Regions from separate parts of the Homo sapiens genome. Here all the other regions are linked to region 1. Evidence: promoter capture Hi-C in 16 types of primary human blood cells and fetal thymus (Javierre and others, 2016). All regions are on one chromosome and are shown on one strand. Each heading gives the region's core, a stretch centred on a gene start or on the middle of the fragment in contact. The rest is flanking DNA. Distances are from core to core; before and after follow the strand shown. Region 1 holds the start of CYREN (cell cycle regulator of NHEJ). Region 2 holds the start of AKR1B1 (aldo-keto reductase family 1 member B). Region 3 has its middle 38 kb from the start of BPGM. Region 4 overlaps LOC124901750 (a long non-coding RNA gene).

Region 1 (3,879 bases), core at 932-3,431:
ACATGGAGAACCCACTCTGTGTGTGCTGAGGGCAGGGCACTCACCAGTGCAGAGGCAGAAGTGGGTGCCTGTCCTCGAGGGTTAACCCGCTTTGCCTCCCGCCCACAGCCCCTCCACCTTCTAAAAGCTCAAGAGATGATCAGACTGAAACACCCGCCCATCTTGCTGTTCTGCCTAGGCTGGAAGACCTGGCCCAGGTCATGGAGGCCCCTGCTCCACTTGCCAGATTCGCAGGAGTCTTCTGACCAGAGCTGTCGCACCTTGCTGCTGCCACTGGCACTGCTGCCATTCTCATCCTCTTGGGGGCCTTCATTGGTGCCACATTCTTTGTAGCCACCTGGGCTGTCAGCCATGAGGGAAGGACCCTCGTTTTAGTCTCGGATTGTAAGGTTTCCATCTCTGTACCTTCTCACAAAGAAGAGTCAGGGCCCAAGCTTAATGACCTGTTTTTTAATTCAGGAAGGTAAATCTCGTTCTCTCGTCACACCCGGAATTACAGGTCCATTTGTCCTCAGTGGGAGTTGATCTTTGATTCCTACAAAGAACAATAAAGTCCGGTGAATTCCCATACCTCCAGTCATCAGGCACAGTTACTGGTCGGTGCAGGGCAGGCCAGAAGTGACCAAGGCCCAAGAGACTCAGACGGCCATTCACAGGCATCAGGCAGGTGTGATTGTGGGCAGGACAGCAGCTCAGGAGAGAGCCCTCTGACCTCCCCAAAGCTGGTGCCCCCTACAGGCAGCCAAAGCCAACCAGAGATACCTCCTGCAGCCTCTGTGCTGACTGACTCAGCACAGGAGGAACGGAAGGAGGCGGAGGCCCCTAATGTTCCTTCTCATTACCACCCCAAATGCCACTGTCCTCTGGGTGCCCAGCCCATTCAATCCCTAAAATACCTCTTAATGGCCTCTCCCTCATCTGGCCAACTCGATTTCTCTACTCTTCTATGGTGGCTCAGTTAAATGAAACTGAGGGCATTTTATTTCACAATAAAGTCTCATTGGCCAACACGCCGCCCTTAAGCTAAAGATACTTCTGATTGGTCAAACTTGAAGCAGCAATAGGGGCCCGGAGGCATTAACTGTGCCAGTCTGTAGATTCTGAAGCCCACGCCAGCCTCTGATCTAGTTTGGCCTCTCTTTTCCCTATCCCAATTGTTCTGCCTCCACTCAGCAGTCCTGGAGCTCAGTCCTCACCCAGAGAGATGGAGTTGTGACTCAGAGGGCCTAGGTCTCTACCTTCCACTTAGGAATCAAGCCAGAAGCTCCTGAAGCGGAGGTTTGCCCAAAAAAAAGAGTAGTCAGCGATAGTCCTCTCTGAATCATAATTTGATAATGCATTGCTCATCCAGATGGCTGTTTACAATTTAAGAAAAAATATTACCAGGCCCTCCTCCTAACCTGCCCGGCCATGGGGCACACCTTTGCCAATGCACCTTCATTTCTGTCAAAACTCAGTGATATTAGTGACTCCTACCCCCTAAGGCGCCTCCCAAGCGCAATGCTGCAGTCTGTGCGGACAAATTTAGTTCACCCTGGGGTGCCTATTAAGTACATTTCGCAAACGAGGAACTGAGACTTAGTTAACTTGCAGAAGATCACAGAAAAGTTTGAAATCAGCTGGTTGGATTCGCAGCCAGGTCCTGCAGACTCCAGACCCCGCGCCTCCCCGCCCTACTTCTGGGCCCCAAGAGCAGGCCGCGGCAACTTCCAGAAGCCGGGTCTCTGGGGCACCGCGCTCGCGGACCGACCTCAGTCCCATCCCAGCCGCTCCCTGCCTGGGCAGAATGGGGGCCCCGCGGGAACGCGATGTGCTGCCAGTTCACAGCCCGCCCTCCCTCTGCGGGCCGGTACCCGCCGCTGGCGGCGCCGACCTGTGGGAGGCCCAGAGGGCGGGTGAGTGCGGAGCGGAAGGCGCGGGCGAAGCACCGCAGGGGCCTCGCTGACCCCGCCACACGCCGGGCAGGGCTGCAACGGCTCCTTCCGACTGGAGCGGCCGCGCGCTCCTCCGGCCGGCTACTGGCTTCCCTGCTCTCAGGTTCCCGTCTCCGGCTCTCGTGCCCCTTCTTAGCTTCCAGAGCGGAGCCGGGAGGCAAATTCCAAGCGGTTGTGGGACCCACGCCTCACCCGGAACTTTAAGCCCTGCCGTCTCGCCTGGCGCCCAAACTCTGCGGACCTCCACTGGCCGCCCGCCTCTTCCGGCCCCGCGCGCTCCGGGGTCCCGCGGGCTCCCGGCCTCGGGACACTTCCGGTCTTGGGGAACTCCCGGCCCCCTCGCAGTCCCGGCGCCCGGGACACTTCCGGCTCCCGGCAGCTGCCTCAGTCGGAGGTCCGCGGGCGCCCCATGCTGGCAGTGGTAATGCCGCCGGCTGGCATCCGGTTGGCTGCGCGCTGGGAACGCCAGCGAGGCAGCGCCACCGGCTTGAGGAGGGTGAAAGTTCAATTCTTGGCCCCTGAAGTTAGCGGAAGGGAACGGGCATGTTTTGGAAAGGCCCGCCGGGAATTCCCTCAGAAACCAGGCGAAGCTCCCTGCTGGGCCAGGCCCCCCTCGTGTGCTTGAGGAGGATGGGAGCCCGGCCTCGGTTTGTTATCCTAATTAAGTGGAAAATTAAGAAAATAATAGAATAGCGTAAGTACTAATAGTAAAATTATAGTAAGAGAAATAACAATAGCTAGAATGGAATGAATTGCTGTATTAACCAAGGCTAGAAAGAATTTCAGCCCTCCGAAAGTTAAAGCGAGGGAAGAGAGAGACCCTCTCATATTGTTTTATACTCAGTACCTGTTTTTTTTTTTTTTTTTAAAAAAAAAAGGAAGTGAAATCAAAGACAGGCAGCCCAGCGCCAGGCCCAAAACTGGACCTGGGCCTGCCTGGCCTAAACCTAGTAGTTAAAAATCAACTCATGACTTAGAAACCGATGTTATTCATAGATTCCAGACATTCTATAGAAGAACATTGTGAAACTCCCTGCCCTGTTCTGTTTCTCCCTGACCATCGGTGCATGCAGCCCCTGTCACGTACCCCTTGCTTGCTCAAATCAATCACGACCCTTTCATGTGAAATTTTAGTGTTGTGAGCTCTTAAAAGCGACAGAAATTGTGCACTCGGGGAGCTCGGATTTTAAGGCAGTAGCTTGCCAATGCTCCCAGCTGAATAAAGCCCTTTCTTCTACAGCTCCGTGTCTGAGAGGTTTTGTCTGTGGCTTGTCCTGCTACAGTCCTTGGTTCCCTGACCAGGAAGCGAGGTGACTGACAAGCCCTGTGGAGCGTCCCTGCAGAGGACTCCGGCCAGCCTGACTGACGCAATCCAAAGAGCGCTCCCGGGTAGGAAATGGCCCCGGTGGAATGCCTTGCCAGAGCAGCGCATAGCAGGCTCCCGAGAAGGATTAACACTGGCTGAACACCGGGAAGGAACTGGCACTTGAAGTCCAGACATCTGAAGCTTGTCAAGACTAGTTTTTGGAACTTGCCCCACTCCATGTGAGTGGAAGCATGGCCTGATCACCCACGGTGTGCCTGTATTGACATCTTTGTTCTGGTTTTGACTTGGCTTGACTTGGTAAGACTAGTCTTTGGAACTTGCCCCACTCCACGTGAGTGGAAGCGTGGCCTGATCACCCACGGTGTGCCTGTATTGGCACTTTTGTTCTGGTTTTGACTTGGCTTGACTTGGTAAGACTAGTCTTTGGAACTTGCCCCACTCCATCTGAGTGGAAACGTGGCCTGATCACCCACAGCATGCCTGCATGGGCACTCTTGTTCTGGTTTTGACTTGACTTGAATTGCTGGATACTTTGGTTTTGGTTTTGACTTGGCTTGAATTTTTTGGTACTCGGATTTTGAATTTCGTGATTTTGGTTTGGTATAAACGGTAAAAGTG
Region 2 (3,879 bases), core at 902-3,401, 710 kb before region 1:
AACATAGGGAAACCTGTCTCTACAAAAAATTAAAAACAAACTACCCGAGTGTGGTGGCACACACCTGTGGTCCCAGCTACTTGGGAGGCTGAGGTATGAGGACCACTTGAGCCCAAGAGGTTAAGGCTACAGTGAATCATGATCATGCCACTGCACTCCAGCCTGGGTGACACTGAGCCCCTGTCTCAAAAAAAAAAAAATAAACTTTTACTCCTTATTTACCCTAGAGTAGTGATTTTCAAATGATGGGTCACAAAACTAGCTTCTGGAGGTATGACAATAATTTTTGGAAAAATGGAATAGAAAAAAATATTGAAATGCAGCCTACATAGGTTAAGTACTGTTAAGTAATTTTTATTCCAGTTACATGTATATATCTGTGCGTTGCATCATGCTTAGAAAGTATTTGCTATTGCCAAGAAAGCATCCTTCTGCATCCATTCCAAGAGCATAACATGCAACAGATGGAAATTAGCTTGGTGTCATGGTTGTAATTCAATTACAACCTTAGAGACACCACTGGAGTTTTTGGAGGAAACAAATCACGTACCCTGATCATTCTGGCCAAGAAACACTCTCCCTGATGCAAATGACCTTTTTCTTACCTTATATTTACTAATTTTCAACAGCAGGTTTTAGGGTACATGTAAACTCTTCTGTCCTATTTCAAACATCTCACAGTTCACTCAGTTCTTTCTGTTGTTTTCTTCCCTTGTCTGTGTGTAAATATCCAACGCCCAGGCCCATATTCAAATTTTAAGAGAAAAACCTGGGACGTGGGCCTGCCAGATGGTTCACACCTGTAGCTTTGGGAGGCGAGGTGGGAGGAGCGCTTTGAGCCCAGGAATTGGAGATCACCCTAAGCAACAAGCGGAGACTGTCTCTGCGGGGAAGAAAAAAGATTAGCCAGGTGTGGTGGTGAGCGCCTGTAGTCCCAGCTACCCGCAGTGCTGAGGCAGGAGGATCACTTGAGCCCAGGAGTTCCAGGCTGCAATGAACCATGATTGTGCCACTGCACCCCAGCTTGGGCAACGAGACCCTGTCACAAACAAACAAGCAAACAACAAAAACAGAAACTGAGAAACCCAGGTTATGGCTGTGGAATATAATATGCAATACTTAGAAGGTTAAAAATTCTAGGTTTTGCCTCAGCTCCCATACCACCACCTTTGTTGCTCAATTTTCAGATAATCAGGCTCAGGCTATTATTTTTGGTTTTTCATATCATATTATCATTTTTCATATCCTATGATGTTTCATGTCCTATTGTCATTCTCATCCGGCTAGGCACTTCTCGGGGACGCTGTGTGGTGTTGAGGTTTTACAGGGAAAATGCTAACCTTGGCGCCTCCTGAATTATCAACTAGCTACGGGGTGCCCAGATTTTTCTCCCGAGTTCCAGACCCAGGGCACCCCGAGGCGGCGCCTGGCCGAGGAGCTCCGCACTGCGCCTTGTTAACAGCTGGGTCCGGGCAAACTCGCGCCACCTAATTCTCTGCCCTCTACCGGCTTGAGATGCTTATTCCTCAGGGAGGGCAAGAATCGAAACGATTGAGACCAACTATTTACAAGTGAGGCAACCGGGCTACAGGTGCCTCGAGGGAAAGGAGGCTGGGTCTGCGCTCCCACACCTTGCCGACGGCTCCACGTCCCTGTCTGCGCCCGAGGTCCACCGGTCTGTGAAGCCCACTTTCCCCGCCTCCCTCTCGCGTTGTGCCGCTTGGGGCGCCCGCTAGGACCCAAAATGCGGACTGGTGGGCCGCCCATCAAGGGTTGCCCGCGGTAGGGCGGGGGCTCCCGTGAGCTGCTCCCAAACCCCACTCGCAGGATGCTGCCCTGACGCCCAGGGCCAACCCGGGGAGCCAAGGCCCCCGGTCTCTGCAAGGCCGACCCCAGCCCGCTGGGGACCCTGCAAGCCCGCGCGTGGCTCCCAGCACGCCGGGCGTCCGCGGGGCGAGCTGCTCAGGGTCACTCGGGGTCCCTCGCCAATACAGGCCGCGCGGAGAGTGTGAGGCGAGCCCCGGGCCCGCGCCCCCACGAGCACCTACCTTCCAGGTACCCAACCCCAGGATGGGCATCTTGGCGCCGTTGTTGAGCAGGAGACGGCTTGCCATGGCTGCTGCGCTCCCCAGACCCCCGCCCAGTACGGTGCGGCCTTGGCCGCGGCGCGTACCTTTAAATAGCCCGTGAGGTCGGCAGAAAGGGCGCCTGCGGTTGGCGCGCCGCTGCGCGAAGGAGCCTTCTGATTGGTTGCGCTGGGGGTGCCGCGGCGGCCTTCCCCAAGGGTCGGCGGGGATGCTTCTTCCGCCTGGTCCTAGTGGCAGCGGATTCTTTCCGCCCCCAACGCTCGCCCGCGCCCCGCGTGGCAGAAAGGAGTTCCTCAGCTGCTGTATCTGGTGGGAAAGCGAATGCTTTAGCGAAAATAACAGGCATCCCATAAATACATAGACTAGAAATAAGTTTTGGTTTCATTAAGAGCCCAGAAGAATGCCTTTGTTGTCCAACCCCAGTTTGATGCTCTTTGGGAATCTGACGAATACCTTGTCCTTAATCTATGTGAATCATACTGACTACACATATAGTTTACCGCACTTTGTTCTTAGACAAAGGTGCATGCCAGAAAAATGGCTTGCAATCCTTTTGCAAAGCACCTTCACAAAATATGGGTTTGCCCAGACTTTTTGTAGCCTTCTAGATCTCTCTTTGCACCCCACTCTAGGTGTTAGCTGTGTCTGTGCATACTAGGTGTGGTTCAGCAAGCCTTCCACCAAAAGCCAGCATCCTTTGATGTTCTTGAGGTTAGAAAGCCTTGATGGGCTTGATCCAGAACTCTCAGAAGAATTTGGAAAGTAAGGCTGTCCATTCAGAATCAGTAAGACAAATTTCATCAGTCTTTGGAAAGTGAGACTCTATCAAAGCAGTAAGTTCCAGTACAGTAACTTATCAAAACTCTCTAGAGGAAGAAAAGTGAACAGACAGAAAACCACAGAAGAAAAAGTTGACTCTAATATTGTAGCTTCCAGTATTTCAAATTAGAAGGTACAAAATAGTAAATTGATCACCCTAATTGGCAGGTAGAAACACACATTTTTCCAAGATAGCCTAAGAAAAGTCACTTGAAGATCCTTGAAGACAATTTTGGTTTCTTTCCAACAACCTCTCTTCATGATACTCTACCTCACCCCAACTGCTCTTTCTGCTCCATCACCCTCCGATCTTTCCCCTAATTATGCAAGATTGGGAACTCCATCTGCCTGGTAGTGACTCAAGCACCAGGTCTCTCTAAACTCCATGCCGGTGATTTTCCATTTGGTGCTTTCTTTAAAAGTGCTCCCTCCTGGAAAAATTTATACAGAACAGACTAGCCCAGATATTTTTCCATGTAACTTTTGTAAAAATTGTTGCTATTGGGCAAATTCATTTGTCCCCAAGTAATAGAATTTGAACTTGAGCCTAAAGCTGGGAACTTGCTTTGTGTAAAACAGCAAGTTCCTTCCTCCATGAGAGTCCTCTTGACTTGGAGGTTGCTCTGCCAATTGAACCTCCTGGGTCCAAATCCAAAGAGCTAATCTCTTGTGAAAATGATACACCTTGAGTGGCCAGGTTGGTACACACAGAAGGGTCGTCTGTTAGGGACATGGACTCAATATCAGAGGCTTTGTTGTTGGTTTGATAATAATTGAGTATACAGCTTGATTGCATGAAGTTATAACTGTGTCTAAAGCTGGAGTGATACCTGTAGTCTCAGCTTCTCAGGAGGCTGAGGTGGGATGACTGCTTGAGCCCAGGAGTTAGAGACCAGCCTGGACAACATAGCAAGACCCTGTCTGTAAAATAAATAAATAAACCCAGAATATTTTGGCTGGGCCATGCAGACAT
Region 3 (3,879 bases), core at 467-2,966, 560 kb before region 1:
AGAGACGGCTTGAATAGAAGCATTCAAGGGGTCTGGAGTTCACGACGAGGGTAAACAGAAAAAATTATGAGGTACCAGGAAGACAGAAGAATAATAGTTTGTAGTCTAGAAGAATTTCAGAGTTTGAGATCTTGATGATGGAGGAGTACTAGGGAGGATAATACCAAAGAAGTGGCTATGGTTGGGTGTGGCTGAAAAAGACTGAAGAAGATTAAAGTTGAAGGTCAAGGAGTTCAGGGTCAGTTTGTTGCAAGGGCCATTTACATTCTCCACTTAGAGGTGAGTGTCCCTGTGTTAGGGTCCACGTTTCGGTAATACGTATTTTTTATCTTCCACACTTCCCAATACAGTGTCAGCAAAATGTTGGTGGAATTGACTTGAGTGTTGAAGAAAAAAATCACTCACGATGATTGTAGGGGATGGAGTGATGATTATAACTTTGGACTTGCTGATCTATACTTTTAGATGAGAATGGCTTCAAATAGGCGGCTTTCTCAAGCCAGGCAGCTATTTTCACTCTTTCAGTGACTGCCCCAACGTATCTCCACTGGACAAATCTCCTCATTCCTGGTATTTTACAGTTTGTTGTGATTCCTTCTAAGGCAGGAGAATATCCTGGATGTTGCTGTGTGCTCATTGTCTGAAATGAGCACACCACATGTAGCAGTGCCCTTCTTACCTTTCCTGCCATTGATTCTCCATGTGAACTTTCTGTAAGCAAGATGTTCATCCAGGAGTTCTCCAAAGCCTACCTTCTTTTCACTCCTTTCTGAGTTTGTAAAAAATTTTGGGAGTCAGTTACTCTACTTTCCCATACTACTTCAGGAAATTTGGAATTCCTGCACATCTGTTTCCTGGGTAAGTTGGCTCTTGATTGCACTGTTTTCAGTCAGCTGGGTCTTTGGCCAACCCAGAGTATTCCTTTGTTAATTCCCACAAGCTAGAGGATTTCTAGAGATTTTTTTTCATTCCTTATTCTGTGGACTCTTTATTTCTTCTCACCCTAAATCATCTGCTTGCCTCACCCCTGCCCCACTCTGATTTAACTCCCATGTGGCTCATTAGCTCCAAGCCAGTTTGCAGCGACTCCCAGGCTCTCAGCTGCCTGAAGGATTGGCTGCCATAATGGACACTTTGATGACTATTCTGGTTGTCTCTTGATTCTTAGGACATCTTTGTAGGCCAGCCTATCTATAAGATGACTTCCTTCTTTGTCAGCTATAATAATGGATATTGATTTTTTCCTAATTTTTCATTATAGGAATTTTGAACATATAGAAAGTTAGAGGGAATAGTGTATTGAATGTAGTGTACATATCACTCAGCTTTAGTATCATTTACGGACAATATTATTTCATCTGTACTTTTTTACTTCCCTGATTATTTTGAAACAAATCCTAAACATCATATCCTTTTATCTGTCAATGACAGTGCATAGCTTTAAAAAATAAGAACACTTATTGTGTCTCACCTAAAAATTAGCAAAATTTAGCAAACAAATTTCCAAAGTCATTCAGACTAGAATAATAGTGGTTGAGAGTAGCTCTTCTTGTTTAGAAAAATTTTAGTTTCAGCCTGAGCAAAAACCAAAAAATCACAATTAAGCTTTACCACTGCTAAGCCATTAAATTCTTGTTGATAGGGCAATTCAGGATATTCAGCTTCTATTTTTGACAAAAAAATCATAGAACTGCAGATGTTTACACCACAAAAGTGAATAAGGTCCATTTTGGACATGACCTGTTCAATAACATATGATAGAATCAAACATGTTATGCAAAGTACCTACTGATGAATGATTACAGGTTTTAACATCTTACTTTTTCACAAGCTTTTAAATGAGTCCATGTAACCCTTTGTCTGCTTCACACAAATTTTTACCACCGTGTAGCACATCTTAGCAGATTCTACTTCAGATTATACTGAATTAGAAATTTTACCAACTTCTTTGAAAATATTATTCTCACTTGTAGTTATTCCATACAGACTATTCATAGAACCTAATTCTTTAGTTACTTCAAACTTAGCATTGATACCTCAAGTAAAAAACAACAGCTGAGCAGTATCAGTAGCATCTGTCTATTCATCAAGAGACAAGGAAAGATACTCAGAACAATTAACTTTGTTTTTAACTATTGATGTTGCTCCCAATGTCCTCAACTTTTCAATCAACTTTTGTTACCAAAAGACTCACAGTCTTGAACAAGTTTATTTTCTGCGGACACATTTCTTCAGCTAATAAAAACACAGTTTAATTAGCTTACCATTGATAAATGGGTTTCCTTGCTTGCTAACAAATGAACCACTTGGAAACTAAGTTTGGTTGCAGCCTCATTTACATTTGTAATTCTTGTGAAGAAATTCCACTATAATAAGATATTCTATTTTAAATTTCCTAATTGTTCTGCCTGTTGCTTTCCTGTGAATTGGACATATTGTGATGAGTGCTTAGTCTGGCAATGTTGACATATATTCTGTTGTTTTAGCATAGTTATAGTGTCAGTGCATACTAAACACATGCTTTCCGATCTAATTCAATTAAAAAAAAGCCAGATGCCACAGTAACTTAAAAGTGCAACATTTGAAGTTGACTTTTCTTGTTTTGACATGAAAGATATGCACTGATAAAATAAAATAAAAGTAAAACAAGTATGCTTGGCACTTGAAACACTGTCAAGTCAACTCACTAAGCAGCAGTAAGAAGTGATGAAGATTTCACAAATGGTCCCTGTTGCAACTCTTCAACTTTGCTGTTGAAACTCAAATGCAGCCATAGACAATATGGAAATGAAAAGTGTGCTATGCTATAGTAAAACTTCATTTATAATATTCAGCTTTAATTTAAAATAATTTTCATATCATAAAATATTATTGTTCTTTAGATTTTTTTTTCAATTATTAAAAAACGTAAAAACTGGCCGGGCGCGGTGGCTAACGCCTATAATCCCAGAACTTTGTGAGGTCAAGGTGGGCGGATCACTTGGGGTCAGGAGTTCGAGACAAGCCTGGCCAACATAGTGAAATTCTATCTCTACTAAAAATACAAAAATTAGGCCAGGAACAGTGGCTCACGCCTGTAATCCCAGCACTTTGGGAGGCGGAGGTGGGCTGATCACGAGGTCAGGAGATCAAGACCATCCTGGCTAACACGGTGAAACCACGTCTCTACTACTAGCCAGGCGTGGTGACATTGCACCTGTAGTCCCAGCTACTCAGGAGGCTGAGGCAGGAGAATCGCTTGAACCCAGGAGGCGGAGGTTGCAGTGAGCCGAGATCACACCACTGCACCCCAGCCTGGGCGGTAGAGCGAGACTCAGTCTCAAAAAAAAAAAAAAAATTAGCTGGGCATGGTGGTGCATACCTGTAATCCCACCTACTCAGGATTCCACTGCTGAGGCAGGAGAATCGCTTGAACTCAGGAGGCAGAGGTTGCAGTGAACTAGGATGGCACCACTGCACTCCAGCTTGGGTGACAGAGTGAGACTCCTTTTCCAAAAAAAAAAAAGTAAAAACCATACCAAAGGCTGGATGTGATACATGGGCCATAGTTTGGCAATCCCTGGTCTAGATCAAGGCACCTCTAAAAATTTCACAGATGTGTCATGCCCTTGAATATTTGTAGGGCTTATCTTCTATCACCTGAGGTGCAGATGCCTTACTTAGGCATTGAGAACTCTAGTCACTTTTTGCTACCAGGTCTGCTTGGCATGATCTCATCAAAATAGTGGAACAATGACCAGAATGTCCAGGTGATCAAGGTCCATCATCTGTCTAGTTCAAACAAGGACCAAACTGGTAAATTGAATGGGTTTTCATGGGGAGAATCACTCCTGCATCCTTTAAGTGTTTGAGGAAGACACAAATCACTTCAGGATGCAG
Region 4 (3,879 bases), core at 346-2,845, 540 kb before region 1:
TTGGATGCCTATCGGTGATTAGAATGAATGATTGGGGGTTCCAGTTAATTAACTACCTGAATTTGTCTTCCTATATATAATTTTCCAGGAAGAAAATAATATAACAAAAAGGAAATGGTTACAAAGTAACAAACATTTTATTTCCCAGTCTAATCTTTTTCAACCTATATTTATACCCAGAGGACTGCGTGGTATGTTCAGCATCATGTATCTTGGCTTCTGTCAAGATGAATATTTTGTATTGATCAACGCTTTACACTTTACAAAGCCCTTTCAAATACTTATTTCCTTTGACTTCTAAGTCTTACTGCACCATTGTGTAGATGGAAAAATTGAGTCTGAAGTGGTGATTTCCCCAATGTTATTCTACTTCATGCCCACTAGAATAGCTAAAATCTAAGACTGACAGTATCAAGTATTGGTAAGGATGCAGAACAATTAAAACTCACATATATTGCTGATGGAAGTATAAAATGATATAACCACTTTGACAAAAAGTTTGGCAGTTTCTTATAAAGTTAAACACATCTTCTGATTCAGCAATTGCAGTTGTAGGTAAGTATCCAAGGTAAGTGAAAATACATGTTCACAAAAAGACTTGTAGAAGAATGTTCATAGCAGCTCTATTCACTGTAGTCAAAAATTGAAAACGACCCAAATGTCCATCAACAACAGGATGGGTAAACAAGTTGTAGTATATTAGCACTTAGCATTAAAAAGAATGAATTACTGTACTGATACATCCAATAACATGAATAAAACATAATGCTGAGGAAAGAAGCTGCATACAACAGAGTATATATTGTATGTTTCCACTTATATGAAGTTCTAGAACAGGTAAAGCTAATCTAAGGTGAAAAAATTCAGTAGTGCCTTTGAGGGTTTGGGGCATTGCTCCCAAGGGAGGACTTTTTTTCTTACGAGATGGAAATATGGTGAGGGTATAGACACACAGCTCAAATTGTTCAATTAATACTTGTGCATCTCAATGTATGTATATTTTACCTTAAAAACTGTAAAAACAATAACAATCAGATGGAGGAGTTTGGAGTGGAGGTTTAGATAAAAGAAGCGAGGCAGAACATTGATACTACAAGTTGAGTGATGAGTGATGTCCTTTATATTCTTCTGTTTATGTATGCTTGAAATTTTCCACAAAAAAAAGTTTTAAAAAAGACAATAAGGAAAAATGATCAAAAGGCTTTCAGGGAACTGGAAATAGTTCAGTATGGCTGGAGCAGAGAGTGTGTTTTCCACTCTTTCATTTCATAGGAATCTTCCCAGACAGTGGTGAACTGAAAACACCGAATCTCTTAGTCACATCTGATTCTACAGCAAGGATGGTTACAATGACTAGCTAACACAAACGAATAATTGTGGTGGAAAAAACAGATGTTTGTATCTCAAGTGTAAACATAACTTACCAAATATTATTACTTGAAGTACTTGGCAACAATTGGAAAAAGAATTTAAATATGAGCCATGTAGCTACCATGGGATATGGACATGTTTAATGGTACAGGCTCAGACCAGTATAATCCCCTTCCATAACTTGGTAACGCTCCTGACATTGCAATAAGTAAACTAAACCACACCCAGTCAGCAACTAATTAAAAAACAATAAATGTCTTATAAATAAAAAAATTATGTATCTGAAAATATGTGGGAAATATGCTCAATAAATCATCTGATTCATCACTTCTTATTTTAATACAGATTATTGCAAAGCTGTGGGTATTTCAATAATAAATCTACATTAAGTTTTCTTCACCTGAATGCAGTGCATTCTTGTTTGTGTATGTGTATGTGTGTGAAGTTGGGGCTCTGTGTAGACTTAGAGTGAATTACAGATTTCTATTTTAGGAAGAGAACTTAAAAGTTCCCTTTAATTTTACAAATGAGGGAACTAAAACCAAGAGAAACGAAGTGACTTGTCCAAGGTAAAAAGGTGTAAGACCACAGATCAGATCTGATTTCTTCAAATTGAAGTAGACTGTTTACAATGTGTATGAATCTAAAATGCTTTCCATGAGCTGCATCCATATTGAATAACTCAAGAAAAGTTTGTCTTGGCAATTCACAGAACACTATTCAAATACAGAATTGTTTAAAAGGCTTCTAGTGCACTAGTGGAAATATTCTTCTGCCCCATGGAGATTATAATACTGAAGCAGACAGATATCTTCAAAAGGTTGTGGAAAACAGCCAATTTACCATTTGTCTATGCTTGCTTATAGAGCATTAGAGAGGATATTGAACTACCAAAACCCTTTCCTCTATTTTCTCTTCTTGCCTAGCTCTTTACTTGGGTGCCACCACATGCTCTTTATACCACTGTGTTTCAAGCTATGGGTTACAATCCACTTATGAGTTATACAATCAACTTAATGGCCACAATCAGCATTTTTGAAATTAAATTTATTAGATTAGAAAATATCAGTGGACAACACTCATAAGGTTAGGGCAAGTTATTTCATGAAATTCCTGTTTCAGTCATAAATATATGTGTGTACACTGTGTGGAAATGTAAAACATTTTTTTACTGTGGATCAGTCAAGAGTACTTGAGAGCAGATGGCTTTTGTAGGTCCTCAGAGGGACTTGGACATGCTTTAACTCTGATTACCCCTTCCTCAACTTGTGTGTTCATGGTGTGCACGATTTTATTCTTATTTTTAAGTCGACACAAATGAGATGTTATTATAATCATTTATTCTCATAATATACAATGTACAATGTCTGTATTTACCTACATGTTTGCTAATTTCTTTGCATCTGTGAAATTTTTTAATGTGGTAACTTTCATAAAACACAACATTCACCATTTAATCATTTAACCCCAACTCAGTGGCATTCAGTACAGTGATGTGCAACCATCATCGCTATCTATTTCTAGAACATTTTTATCAGCCACAAAGGAAACTCCCTATTCACTAAGCAATCACTTTCCATTCCTCCCTCCCCTACAGCATCTGGAAATCAGTAACCTGCTATCTATCTCTATGGATTCTGGATATTCCACATAAATGAAATCATACAATATGCGGCATTTTGTGTCTGGCTTCTTTAAATTAGCATGTTTTTGAGATTCATTCAAGTTGTAGCATGTATCAGTTATTCATTCCTTTTTGTGGCTGAATATTTCATTGTATGAATATACATTGTATGAATATACCATCTATCCATTGATAGACATTTAGGCTGCTTCCACCTTTTGGCTACAGTGAGCAGTGCTGTTATGAACATTTGTGTACAAATACTTATTTGAATATCTGCTTTCAGTTCTTTAGGGGTATATACCTAGGAGCAGGATTACTGGTTCATAAGGCAATACTATGTTTAATTTTTTGAAGAATCACCAAACTGTTACAATCTATTAGTAGGTTATGAAATCAAACTCTTTCCCACAGTGGCTGTACCATTTTAAATGCCCACCAGTAGTGTACAAAGACTCCAATTTCTCCACGTCCTTTCCAACACATTATTTTTCATTTTAGAAAGATGATAGCCATTCTAGTGGGTATGAGGTGGTATCTCATTATGGTTTCAATTTGCATTTCCCTAGTCACTAACAATGCTAAACATTTTTTCATGTGCCTGTTGGCCATTTGTACATCTTCTTTGGATAAATGTCCATACAAGTCCTTTGCCCATTTTTAAATGAGATGTTTGTCTTTTGTTGTTGAGCTGTAAAAGTTCTTTATATATTCTGGATACTAGATCTTTATCATTTATATGATTTGCAAATAATTCTATGTTGTCTTTTTACTTCCTTGGTAATGTCTTTTGATGAATAAAAGCTTTTGAATCCAATTTACTTCTTCTTTTGTTGCTTGTGCATTTGGTGTCATATTTAAGAAATCATTGCCAAATTCAAGAT

What was found. Contacts are between HindIII fragments. The CHiCAGO score rates a contact against its expected background, and 5 or more counts as called.
Region 2: the fragment with the promoter of AKR1B1 here is called in contact with the fragment with the promoter of CYREN in region 1 in 4 of 17 cell types (naive CD8 T cells, activated CD4 T cells, total B cells and 1 more); the score reaches 9.4 in naive CD8 T cells.
Region 3: a contact is called between a fragment that was not itself captured here and the fragment with the promoter of CYREN in region 1, in 3 of 17 cell types (total CD8 T cells, naive CD4 T cells and M1 macrophages). The highest score is 8.2, in total CD8 T cells.
Region 4: a fragment that was not itself captured here is called in contact with the fragment with the promoter of CYREN in region 1 in 1 of 17 cell types (total CD4 T cells); the score reaches 8.2 in total CD4 T cells.

Annotation. Positions count from the first base shown.
Region 1 is chr7:135,168,526-135,172,404 of GRCh38, forward strand. CYREN (cell cycle regulator of NHEJ) reads right to left here and starts at 2,182. Exons shown (of 4, transcript NM_024033.4): 1 at 2,127-2,182; 2 at 261-535. The coding sequence starts at 397. RefSeq lists enhancers at 493-622, 2,703-2,922 and a silencer at 1,713-2,322. The HindIII fragment of the contact is 3,007 bases long and covers 433-3,439 here.
Region 2 is chr7:134,456,949-134,460,827 of GRCh38, forward strand. AKR1B1 (aldo-keto reductase family 1 member B) reads right to left here and starts at 2,152. Exons shown (of 10, transcript NM_001628.4): 1 at 2,049-2,152. The coding sequence starts at 2,114. RefSeq lists a silencer at 1,762-1,951. The HindIII fragment of the contact is 6,251 bases long and covers 1-3,879 here.
Region 3 is chr7:134,606,576-134,610,454 of GRCh38, forward strand. No RefSeq gene overlaps it. Among named protein-coding and RNA genes, the nearest start is that of BPGM, 38 kb to the right of the region's middle. The HindIII fragment of the contact is 226 bases long and covers 1,604-1,829 here.
Region 4 is chr7:134,624,367-134,628,245 of GRCh38, forward strand. The region is part of intron 1 of LOC124901750 (a long non-coding RNA gene); the gene reads right to left. Among named protein-coding and RNA genes, the nearest start is that of BPGM, 21 kb to the right of the region's middle. The HindIII fragment of the contact is 4,404 bases long and covers 1-3,797 here.